3 separate regions of the Homo sapiens genome follow, and regions 1 and 3 are each linked to region 2. The links are contacts of gene promoters, found by promoter capture Hi-C in human tissues and cell types (Jung and others, 2019). All regions are on one chromosome and are shown on one strand. Each heading gives the region's core, a stretch centred on a gene start or on the middle of the fragment in contact. The rest is flanking DNA. Distances are from core to core; before and after follow the strand shown. Region 1 holds the start of DCTPP1 (dCTP pyrophosphatase 1). Region 2 holds the start of NFATC2IP (nuclear factor of activated T cells 2 interacting protein). Region 3 holds the start of TBC1D10B (TBC1 domain family member 10B).

Region 1 (3,536 bases), core at 951-3,450, 1.5 Mb before region 2:
CTCAGCCTCCTGAGCAGCTGGGACTACAAGCATGCACCACCACACCCAGCTAAGTTTGTATTTTTAATAGAGAAAGGGTTTCACCATGTTGCCCAGGCTGGTCTCAAACTCCTGATCTCAAGTGATCTGCCCACCTCCGCCTCCCAAAGTGCTAGGATTACAAGCATGAGCCACTACGCCCAGCCTTTCATAGTATTTAAAATACAGTTACATTTATTTTTTTCATATTTATCGCCATTTCAGGCAATACATCATAGGGTCTAATAACAGACTGTGAAGCCAAACTGCCTGGATTTGACGCCAGCTCTACCACTTTACTAGCTGTTAAGTTATTTAACCTCTCAGTTTCCTTATCTTTTTTTTTTTTTTTTTTTTTTTTTTTTTGAGACGGAGTCTCGCTCTTTCGCCCAGGCTGAAGCACAGTGGCGCGATCTCGGCTCACTGCAAGCTCCACCTCCCAGGTTCACACCATTCTCCTGCCTCAGCCTCCTGAGTAGCTGGGACTACAGGTGCCCGCCACCACACCCAGCTAATTTTTTGTATTTTTAGTACAGACGGGGTTTCACCGTGTTAGCCAGGATGGTCTCGATCTCCTGACCTCGTGATCCGCCCGCCTCGGCCTCCCAAAGTGCTGGCATTACAGGCGTGAGCCACCGCGCCCGGCCTCAGTTTCCTTATCTTTAAAATGGGGATGACAACAATATTACCTACCATATAGGGTTTTTGTGAGGATTAAATTAGTTGCTATGAGGATTAAATATGTAAAATGCTTAAAACAGCCACCCCAGTTCCAGTTCATTCCTGAGGTCCCACTGTATTCTGGAGACACTCTTGTATCCTTACAATAAATTCCTTGTGGCCGGTGGGGGTGGCTCGTGCCTGTAATCCCAGCACTTCGGGAGGCCAAGGCAGGAGGATTGCTAGAGCCCAATCCAGCAATCCTGGTTCAAGACCAGCTTAGGCAACATGGTGAAACCCTGTCTCTATAAAAAATTTAAAAAATAAAAATAATAGATTTCTTTTTCTTGCTAAAAGCAGTTTAAACTTGTTTCTGTTGCATGTATCCAATCTTAACTGCTGGATAATATCATTTGTATAAATATACTTCCATGTAGCCATTCTTCCGTTGATAGTCATTTTATTTTCAATTTTTTTCACTCTTAGAAACAAAACTGTAATGAACTTCTTGCATGTGTCTCTCTGCACATATTCATTAATTTCTCTAGGGCATATACCTAGAATTGCAATTGTCACAGCCTTGGGATTTTAATTTCCAAAATCTGACTCTGCCTCTTCCTGCGCTTTCTTACGCTTTCACTTCCAGCAAGCTGGAAGCCTCTTTAAACGTGGAAATCAGAGATAGTAGCCCTAATAAGGGTACAATAATAAATCATTCTTTGCAAGACTACACCTGTTCTAGGGTTTCATAAAGATCTCTGCTCCTCCCATGGCCAATAACTCAGTGGTTCTGATTTGAAAGCAGCAACCCTGTGACTCGCCACCTCGCGTATTCCCTGGTGTGAGTGGAGCCTGGAGTTCTCGTGTGTGGGGTGGAGGAGCCGTGCTGGGGACCCATGAGGCTGGAGAGGCCGGCACAGGCCAGACCATAAGGGGCCACGTGTTTCAGGGCAATGTACGTTGCGCTGGGGCCTACTGCCTCCCTTAGGACAGGGATGGGGCGACCTCCATCGTTTCAACCACAGGACACAGCGATGGCGGGGAGCTGAAGTCCTACTGCCGTCTGATCTTACTCCGCTCTTCCCCTTCAATCCCATCCAAATAGTGTGGGGGTTGGCCTCGAGGTTTCTCAACGTCCTTAAGCCCTGATTTAATACCTATGCATAGGGCCTTTCATTTATAGGGTTTTCCACCTGACGGGCCCTCTTCCGCTGCCGTTTCGCTTTGGCGCCCTCTGGCGCCCATAAACGAAGTGACGCGCCTGCGCTTCCCCCACCCTCTGCCCTTCGTCTCTTCCCCAGGTCGAATTGGTACCTCTACCTTTAGACACAGGGCCTAGCGGAAGAATTCCAGGGCCTAAGACTAGAAACGCGCGCTTGAAGCTCCCTCAGATTGGTCCAGTGAGGGAAGGGGAGGGCTGTAGCAAACTCCACAAAAGTCATTGGTCTCTTTCCTCAGGCTCCGCCCCGTGAGGCAATAGAGAACTCCCGTAATTGGTCGGAGCTCTGGAGGCGGGGCTTCGAGCGTGGCTCGTGGGTTTTCCGTGAAGTCGCGGTGCAGCGGTGGGCGGCATGTCTGTGGCCGGTGGGGAGATTCGTGGGGACACGGGGGGAGAGGACACTGCTGCTCCCGGCCGGTTCAGCTTCAGCCCGGAGCCCACGCTCGAGGACATGTAAGCAGGCCTGGCCCAGCTCGGGGTGGGGAAGTCGCCCCTTTCTCCCGCGTTTTGGGGAGGGTTCCTCCACGTGGTCGGGAAGCGGGCTGGCAGCGGGGCTCGGGTCCTGGCTCTGTGGGCTGTCCCTGGGTGAGCCTTCTTACCTCATCTGCAAAATGGGCGCAGCGGTGCACACCTGAGGCAAGGGAAATTGGGTGGTGCCTCCGAGTGGTAACTAGGAACGCCCTTCAGCCTAGCCCTGGGAAGATACCGGCACCAGATACCGCCTCTGCTCTCCAGGCGCCGGGGGTACGAGAGGGGCAAACGAAGTGCTGAGAGGTGGGAGACGTTATTTTTTGCTGGAGGAGGTCAAGAAAGGCTTCTTAGAGGAAGGGTCTGTGGAACTACCTTCTGTAAGAGAAATTGCATTTTGATGTGCGGCGATTCCAGGTGGAGGAAACTGCAGAAGTAGCAGCAGGAGATGGAATAATGAAGAGGGTTTTGTTAGTTTTGGCGAGATGTTAAGGGCAGTTCAGGGGCACGCCCATTTTATAGATGAGGGAACCAAGTTCCGGAAAGAGGAAATGACCTGCACAATACCATCCAATGAATTAGTTGCAGAATCTCCTGGTCCCAGGCCCCATTACATACTACGGGGGTAGCTGCCTCTGGCCCCTGCATCACCCTCTAACCCGGAGACTTGGACTTACACTCCTTTGTCCTATTTCAGCCGCCGCCTCCATGCTGAGTTTGCTGCGGAACGAGACTGGGAACAGTTCCATCAGCCTCGGAATCTCCTCCTGGCCTTGGTTGGGGAAGTGGGGGAGCTGGCAGAACTCTTGTGAGTAGATGGAAAGCTTCCTGGTAGAGTCTGAGTTGTGGGGGAGGGGAGGGGAGCATTTATTTGGTCTTCAAACATTCATGGGTTCAGTTTCCCCTCCTGATTGCTAGGCTCTTTGCTGTTGTTGGGATGCAGAGAGGACTCACGGGTCCCTGCCCTCTAGGGGCACTCAGCCTCCTGGAAGAGAGAGGTGTGAGGTGTGAAAGCATCAGGACAGGTCCCGTCTAGGAAGAAGCAGTGGCAACAACCCTTTTCCCTTCTTTTGTTTTTTGTTTTTTTGGCTTTTTTTTGAGACGGGGTCTCGCTCTGTCGCCCAGGCTGGAGTGCAGTGGCTCAATTTCGGCTCACTGCAACATCCGCCTC
Region 2 (3,234 bases), core at 197-2,696:
CATTAATACATTCTATGCTTGTTAACAATCCAGCTCCTGTGGCTGGGATGCAGGAGTCCCCTCTCCCACGCTCTTCCCTTGAGCCTCAGGAGACAACTGACTGCAGGAATATAAACCCCAGGAATTCTCTTAAGAGAAGCCAGCGGCTGCGTGCCTCTCCCTGGAGGCCCTCCCTTACCTTCCTCATCCCCTGGAGGGTAGAGTTTCAGGAGGGATAGATCATCTGGGATAAGGCGAAGGCTGCTTTTAACCTGCAAAGACAAAGAAGGGAGAGGGGTCAGGCCCAAGTCCTTCCCCTACCGAAAGAAAAAATTGGGGGTAATTCTTCCCTGACACCCAGCTCCCAAATCCTCCCTAAGATCGTGGACACCTTGGCCCTCTCCTGGCAACCTAGAAGTCCAGCTTCCCCAGGATTCAGAATGGAAGTACCCTTCACCCTTTCCTCCATCTGCCTAAGACACTCTGAAATGTATGCTTCCTTGCCCTTTTTAACTAGGTTACTAGCCGCCCCTCTACCCCTGACTCTTAGGGACTCTCAGCCCATTGCTCACACGACCATCGGGGGACCCCAGCCTCTGGAGCCGCCCAGTCCTCTCTGAACCCGCATGGACCCCAACCCCCAATACTGCAGCTCCCTGGCTTCATTTGCCATGGACCCCAACCTCAAAATCCAACGGCCCCAGGTCCTCCCAGTCCCTCTCCAAAATCTCAGGAATCCCAGCTCTTCAGCCTCCCTGTGCCCCCAAGACTCTAGCTCCTAGGAATCCTAAACTTCCAACGCATCCCACCCTCCTTCACCACCCCAGTCTGCAGAAAGTCCCGGAGCCCTGCCTCTCCCTGCCTCCAACACCCTAACGCCCGAGGACCAGCCCCAGAACGCCAGCCTCAACACCCCTATAGCCCTACCCTCCCCGAACGCCGGCCCCTCCCTGGAGGCCAAGCCCTTGGCCCTTCCGCCGGTCCCCTCCCCGGGACCGGGCGCACCTTCCCCGAGTACACCGGAACCAGCGGCGCCTCCCCCGGATCCAGCACCAGCCGCCGCCGCCGCCTGACCGGCTCCCGCGGGGGTCCTGCGGGCCGCCTGTCCTCCCCTTCGCTGTCACTGTTGCTGTTATCCCGGGACGCGACCGGCCCCGGGGGCTCCGGGGGCTCCACCTCAACCTCGTCCGCGGCACCGCGAGCGGTGGCGACCTCCAGAATTTCCTCATCGCTGTCGGTGACCAAGTCCACAGACACTACGTCCAGCGTGCCCCGGGATGGAGACCGCTGGGCCCGAGGACGCCGGCCCCGACCGCCCCAGCCGCCCCGACCCCCTCGGCCGGCACCGCTACCTCCGGACCAGCGGCCCCGCTTCCCCACAGGCTCCGCCATGGCACACTTTCCTCCACAACACACGCCCGCCTCCTCTCGCCTCGCCCCGCCCCCTTCAGCGACTTTCGCCTTGCATTGGACAAACAGCCTGCTCGTCAGCAACTCTTCGCGCCCCACGCGCGGGATCCGCCTTCCCGCCTTTTCATTGGTCTCTGTACCCGCTCATCATGCGCCCACCTCTGAAACCAAGGCGCCAAAGATTCCAATCACCTCGGCACAATCACCGTAGCTTTCGATTCAGTCGGCCTCACCCATTGGCTGGGCCACCTCTCCACAGACGAGCCTCTCCCGGACCCGCCCAACCAAGACAACCGTCTTCCGGCTTGGTTAGTCGCAGGGCATCCTGGGAAATGTAGTCCTCGAGCGGTAAGGTTTCCGGGAGAAGGAAGGCGGGCCTGGAATTCCCTGTGGAAACCGCGGATTTAACCAGGCGCGGTGCCTCACGCCCGTAATCCTGGCACTTTGAAAGGCTGAGGCGGGCAGATTGGTTGAGCTCAGGAGTTTGAGACCAGCCTGGCCAATGTGGCGAAACCGCGTCTCTACTAAGAATGCAAAAATTACCCGGGCGTGGTGGCACCCCTCTGTGGTCCCAACTACTCAGGAGGCTGAGGTGGGAGTTTCGCTGGAGCCCGGGAGGCGGAGATCGCACCACTGCACCCCAGCCTGGGTGACAGGGCGAGACCCTGTCTCAAAAATGCTTTAAAGAAATAATAAGGCTGGCCGCGCGCGGTGGCTCACGCCTGTAATCCCAGCACTTTGGGAGGCCGAGGCAGGCGAATCACGAGGTCAGAAGTTCAAGACCAGCCTGGCCAACACGGTGAAACCCCGTCTCTACTAAAAATACAAAAATTAGGCGGGCGTGGTGGCGTGCGCCTGTAATCCCAGCTACTCAGGAGGCTGAGGCAGGAGAATTGCTTGAGCCCGGGAGGCAGAGGTTACAGTGAGCCAGATCCTGCCGCTGCACTCCAGCCTGGCCGACAGAGCGAGACTCTCTCTCAAAAAAAGAAAGAAAGATAGAAATAATAAGGCTGGGCGTGGTGGCTCACGCCTATAATCCAGCACTTTGGGAGGCCGAGGTGGGCAGATCACCTGAGGTCAGGAGTTCGAGACCAGCCTGACCAACATGGTAAAACCCTGTCTCTACTAAAATACAAAAATTAGACAGGCGTAGTGGCAGGCGCCTATAATCTCAGCTACTCGGGAGGCTGAGGCAGGAGAATCGCTGGAACCCAGGAGGCAGAGGTTGCACTGAGCCAAGATTGTACCACTGCACTCCAGCCTGGGCAACAGAGTGAGACTCCATCTCAAAAAAAAATCTTATGTATTTATTTATTTTTAAATTTTATTTTATTCATTTATTTAATTTTATTTATTTATTTATTTTGAGATGGAGTTTCGCTCTTATTGCCCAGGCTGGAGTGCAATGGCTCGATCTCGGTTCACTGCAACCTCTGCCTCCCAGATTCAAGCAATTCTCGTGCCTCAGTCTCCAAGTAGCTGGGATTGATTACAGGCGTGCACTACCATGCCCAGCTAATTTTGTATTTTTAGTGGAGATGGGGTCTCACCATGTTGGTCAGGCTGGTCTTGAACTCCTGACCTCAGGTGATCCACCCCCCTCCGCCCCCGCCTTGGCCTCCCAAAGTGCTGGGATTACAGGCGTGAGCCACTGCGCCCGACTATTTATTTTATTTTTTTCTTTTTCTTGATTCGGAGTTTTGCTCTGTTGCCCAGGCTGGAGTGCAATGGTGCGATCTCAGCTCATTGCAACCTCCACCTTCAGGGTTCAAAGGATTCTCTTGCCTCAGCTTCCCGAGTAGCTGGGATTACTGTTGCCTGCCACCTTGCCCAGCTAATTTTTGT
Region 3 (3,167 bases), core at 398-2,897, 1.4 Mb before region 2:
AAAAGGGGAATGGGAGGAGAGCTCAGGAAGCTTGGGTCAAACGGGAGATGGGAAAGGTGAGGAGAAGGAGATCAGACACTGAGTGGGAATTGACAGGACATGGGGCTGAGTTGGGAGTGAGGGACCTTAGAGGACTCAGAAACCAAGGAGGAGCTGAGAAGTCGGGAGCTAGGTCTCACTGGAATTCCAGGATGGTGGATGCTATATGGAAATCAGAATATGGGGGTCAGAGAAAGAAGAGGGCGTTTAGAAGTTGGAAGGTTGGAGCTCATAACGTCAGGTCTTTATGCTTGTGATCTAAGGACAACCTGGAGCGCTCATGAGATTGAGGTCGGGATTCTCAGTGGAACATGAGGAGCACAGAGGGATGTGGCAGTGAGGGGAGAGGGGTTGACGGGACTGGGGCCTTGGATCCCCAAAAGAATAGTAACACACATATGGGGAGTTCATGGTATTAGGGATTCATGGATTTGGGGTTTGAGATCCCCACTAGAAGAAATGGAGGGGGTACTCAGAGGGATAAGGTCTGAGGAACTGGAGCCTGGGTTCTGGGGAGGAGCTCAGATAGATGGGAACTGAGGAGAGGGACTTGGAGGTTGGGATTCCCGCAGGAAATGGGTGAAGCAGAGATATGGGTTGCTTATAGGATCTGGGGGCTCTGGCTATTGCCACCTGGGCCTGGAGTGTTGGGGTTAGTTGGGGGCCGAGATCGGAGAATTATAGAGTAAAGGATGAGAGTACTGGGTCAGGGCACTGGATCTGTGGTGGGGCTCAGGGTCCCACAGACCACCAGAGTGTGGGGCTCAGGAGCTGAACGAAGAATAGGGGACCGGAAAGGACTCGAGAGGGGGCAGCGCGGCACTCATTGGTTGAGGGCTGCACTAATGCCCCCGCCCCTTCTCCGTGCTGTCCCCAGCTGTCACCCTCCCATAAGGCTTGTCTCCGGTTGTCACCGACTATCCCTGGGCTGGCACCGCCTGCTGGCAGCATCTTTGCCCTTTGGATGCTCCCATTGGCTGAGACAGCTATCTATTTTCCTGTCCTGTGGCCAAAGTGGGAGAACACGATCATTGGCTGACGGGGCGAATTAATCTCTAGCTTGCCCCGCCTCCTCCCAGCTGTCATTCCTTACTGACCATTTTGGGAGACCTAAAGAATTCTTCAGCTCTTCCTATTGACTGCGGATGCTGTCTGTCACCGCCTAAATAGACATCACTGCCTGTCAATTTGACCTCCACCTGCTCCCCTTTTCATTGGCTCCCTTTTTACCATTCCTATTGGTTAAGAAGCCTCCAGGCCCCACCTCTTACTCGCACAGCCCTGCCTCCTCCTCCGCCCTTCCGCGGTCATTCACCCTTCAGTCATATTCATTGGCCAGGAGGTTCAGACCCCTGCGTTTCTATTGGTTATTTCTTTCGTCCCATCGCCCCCTGCCTTTCCTCGTCCTCTGATTGGTCTTACAGCCCTAGCTTTCTCCGTTTCCTCTTTCCAGATGACCCACCCCTTTTTCGCCTCCAGCCCCGCCCACGATTCCAACGATTGGCAGAAGCCCAGTTCTCTCTCTCCCACTATTCGTCCAAATCCTCTGACTAGGCGGGAGAAAAAAGGAGCGCGATGAGCCAGTCCGCGCGCAGGCGTGGAACGCCGAGACGCTGGCGCGGAGCCGGCTCTGCGGCGTGTGCGCAGGCGCGAGGTCGGCGGCTCGCCCCCAAGCAGGAGGGAGGGGGCGGTGGCGAGAGCGCGCGAGGGGGTGAGAGGGCTCGAGAGAGACCCCGGCGCGCGGCGCCCCCCGACCCCTGCCCCGCCTCTGCGCGCCCAGCGGCCGCTCCGCCCCCGGCGCGCGCCGAGCCGCGCCCTTCGCCCTCTCCCCTTTCTCGGCTGGCCTCGCCGGGAGGCCCGAGGGGCGGCGCCTTCTGCGGCCTCCCCGGCGGGGGGATGTGAGGGGCGGCCCGCGGCCATGGAGACGGGCACGGCGCCCCTGGTGGCCCCGCCGCGCCGTCATGGCGCCCCCGCGGCCCCCTCGCCGCCGCCCCGGGGTTCCCGGGCCGGGCCCGTCGTGGTGGTGGCTCCGGGACCTCCAGTGACTACGGCCACTTCGGCCCCCGTCACCCTGGTGGCCCCCGGGGAGGCGCGGCCCGCCTGGGTCCCGGGGTCGGCCGAGACCTCTGCTCCGGCCCCGGCCCCAGCCCCGGCCCCAGCCCCGGCTGTCACGGGCAGCACGGTGGTGGTGCTGACCCTGGAGGCCTCGCCCGAAGCCCCAAAGCCGCAGCTCCCCTCCGGCCCGGAATCCCCAGAGCCCGCGGCAGTGGCTGGAGTTGAGACATCGAGGGCTCTGGCCGCAGGGGCAGACTCGCCGAAGACAGAGGAGGCTCGACCCTCACCCGCCCCAGGACCAGGGACCCCCACCGGGACCCCTACCAGGACCCCTTCCAGAACGGCTCCTGGTGCCCTGACCGCCAAACCCCCGCTTGCCCCCAAGCCGGGAACCACAGTGGCCTCAGGAGTGACTGCACGGAGTGCATCAGGACAAGTGACAGGTGGGCATGGAGCTGCCGCAGCAACATCAGCATCAGCAGGACAGGCTCCTGAGGACCCCTCAGGCCCTGGCACAGGCCCCTCTGGGACTTGTGAGGCTCCGGTAGCTGTCGTGACCGTGACCCCAGCTCCGGAGCCTGCTGAAAACTCTCAAGACCTGGGCTCCACGTCCAGCCTGGGACCTGGCATCTCTGGGCCTCGAGGGCAGGCCCCGGACACGCTGAGTTACTTGGACTCCGTGAGCCTCATGTCTGGGACCTTGGAGTCCTTGGCGGATGATGTGAGCTCCATGGGCTCAGATTCAGAGATAAACGGGCTGGCCCTGCGCAAGACGGACAAGTATGGCTTCCTTGGGGGCAGCCAGTACTCGGGCAGCCTGTGAGTACCAGTGGGCACCCAGCGGGACCGCCTCGGGGAAGCAAAGGTTGGGGGAGGGCGAAACGAAAACGATACACTTTGCCCAGACTCTGGCAGCCCAGCCTCCTCTGAGGATCCACGGGGTGATCAGCGCGAGCTGCCGTGTCTTGAGCATCCTGAGGTGCCTGTGACATTGGCATGTTAGTGGAGTTTCAGACCAGGGGTCAAGAGGTCTGGGTTTAAGCCTTGCCTTTGATGGGTTGTGTGCCCTTGAG

What was found. Contacts are between HindIII fragments. The study calls those that stand out against the background at their distance.
Region 1: the fragment with the promoter of DCTPP1 here is called in contact with the fragment with the promoter of NFATC2IP in region 2 in 1 of the 25 tissues and cell types used here (pancreas).
Region 3: the fragment with the promoter of TBC1D10B here is called in contact with the fragment with the promoter of NFATC2IP in region 2 in 1 of the 25 tissues and cell types used here (dorsolateral prefrontal cortex).

Annotation. Positions count from the first base shown.
Region 1 is chr16:30,428,694-30,432,229 of GRCh38, reverse strand. It overlaps DCTPP1 (dCTP pyrophosphatase 1), which reads left to right and starts at 2,200. Exons shown (of 3, transcript NM_024096.2): 1 at 2,200-2,350; 2 at 3,063-3,173. The coding sequence starts at 2,250. RefSeq lists enhancers at 1,753-1,862, 2,263-2,342, 3,096-3,536. The HindIII fragment of the contact is 14,232 bases long and covers 1-3,536 here.
Region 2 is chr16:28,949,149-28,952,382 of GRCh38, reverse strand. NFATC2IP (nuclear factor of activated T cells 2 interacting protein) reads right to left here and starts at 1,446. Exons shown (of 8, transcript NM_032815.4): 1 at 985-1,446; 2 at 179-251. The coding sequence starts at 1,371. RefSeq lists silencers at 991-1,110, 1,251-1,350 and enhancers at 1,070-1,570, 1,590-2,124. The HindIII fragment of the contact is 8,980 bases long and covers 1-3,234 here.
Region 3 is chr16:30,368,974-30,372,140 of GRCh38, reverse strand. It overlaps TBC1D10B (TBC1 domain family member 10B), which reads left to right and starts at 1,647. Exons shown (of 9, transcript NM_015527.4): 1 at 1,647-2,913. The coding sequence starts at 1,958. It also overlaps a transcript of MYL11 not described here. RefSeq lists silencers at 1,762-2,051, 2,142-2,221. The HindIII fragment of the contact is 6,682 bases long and covers 1-3,167 here.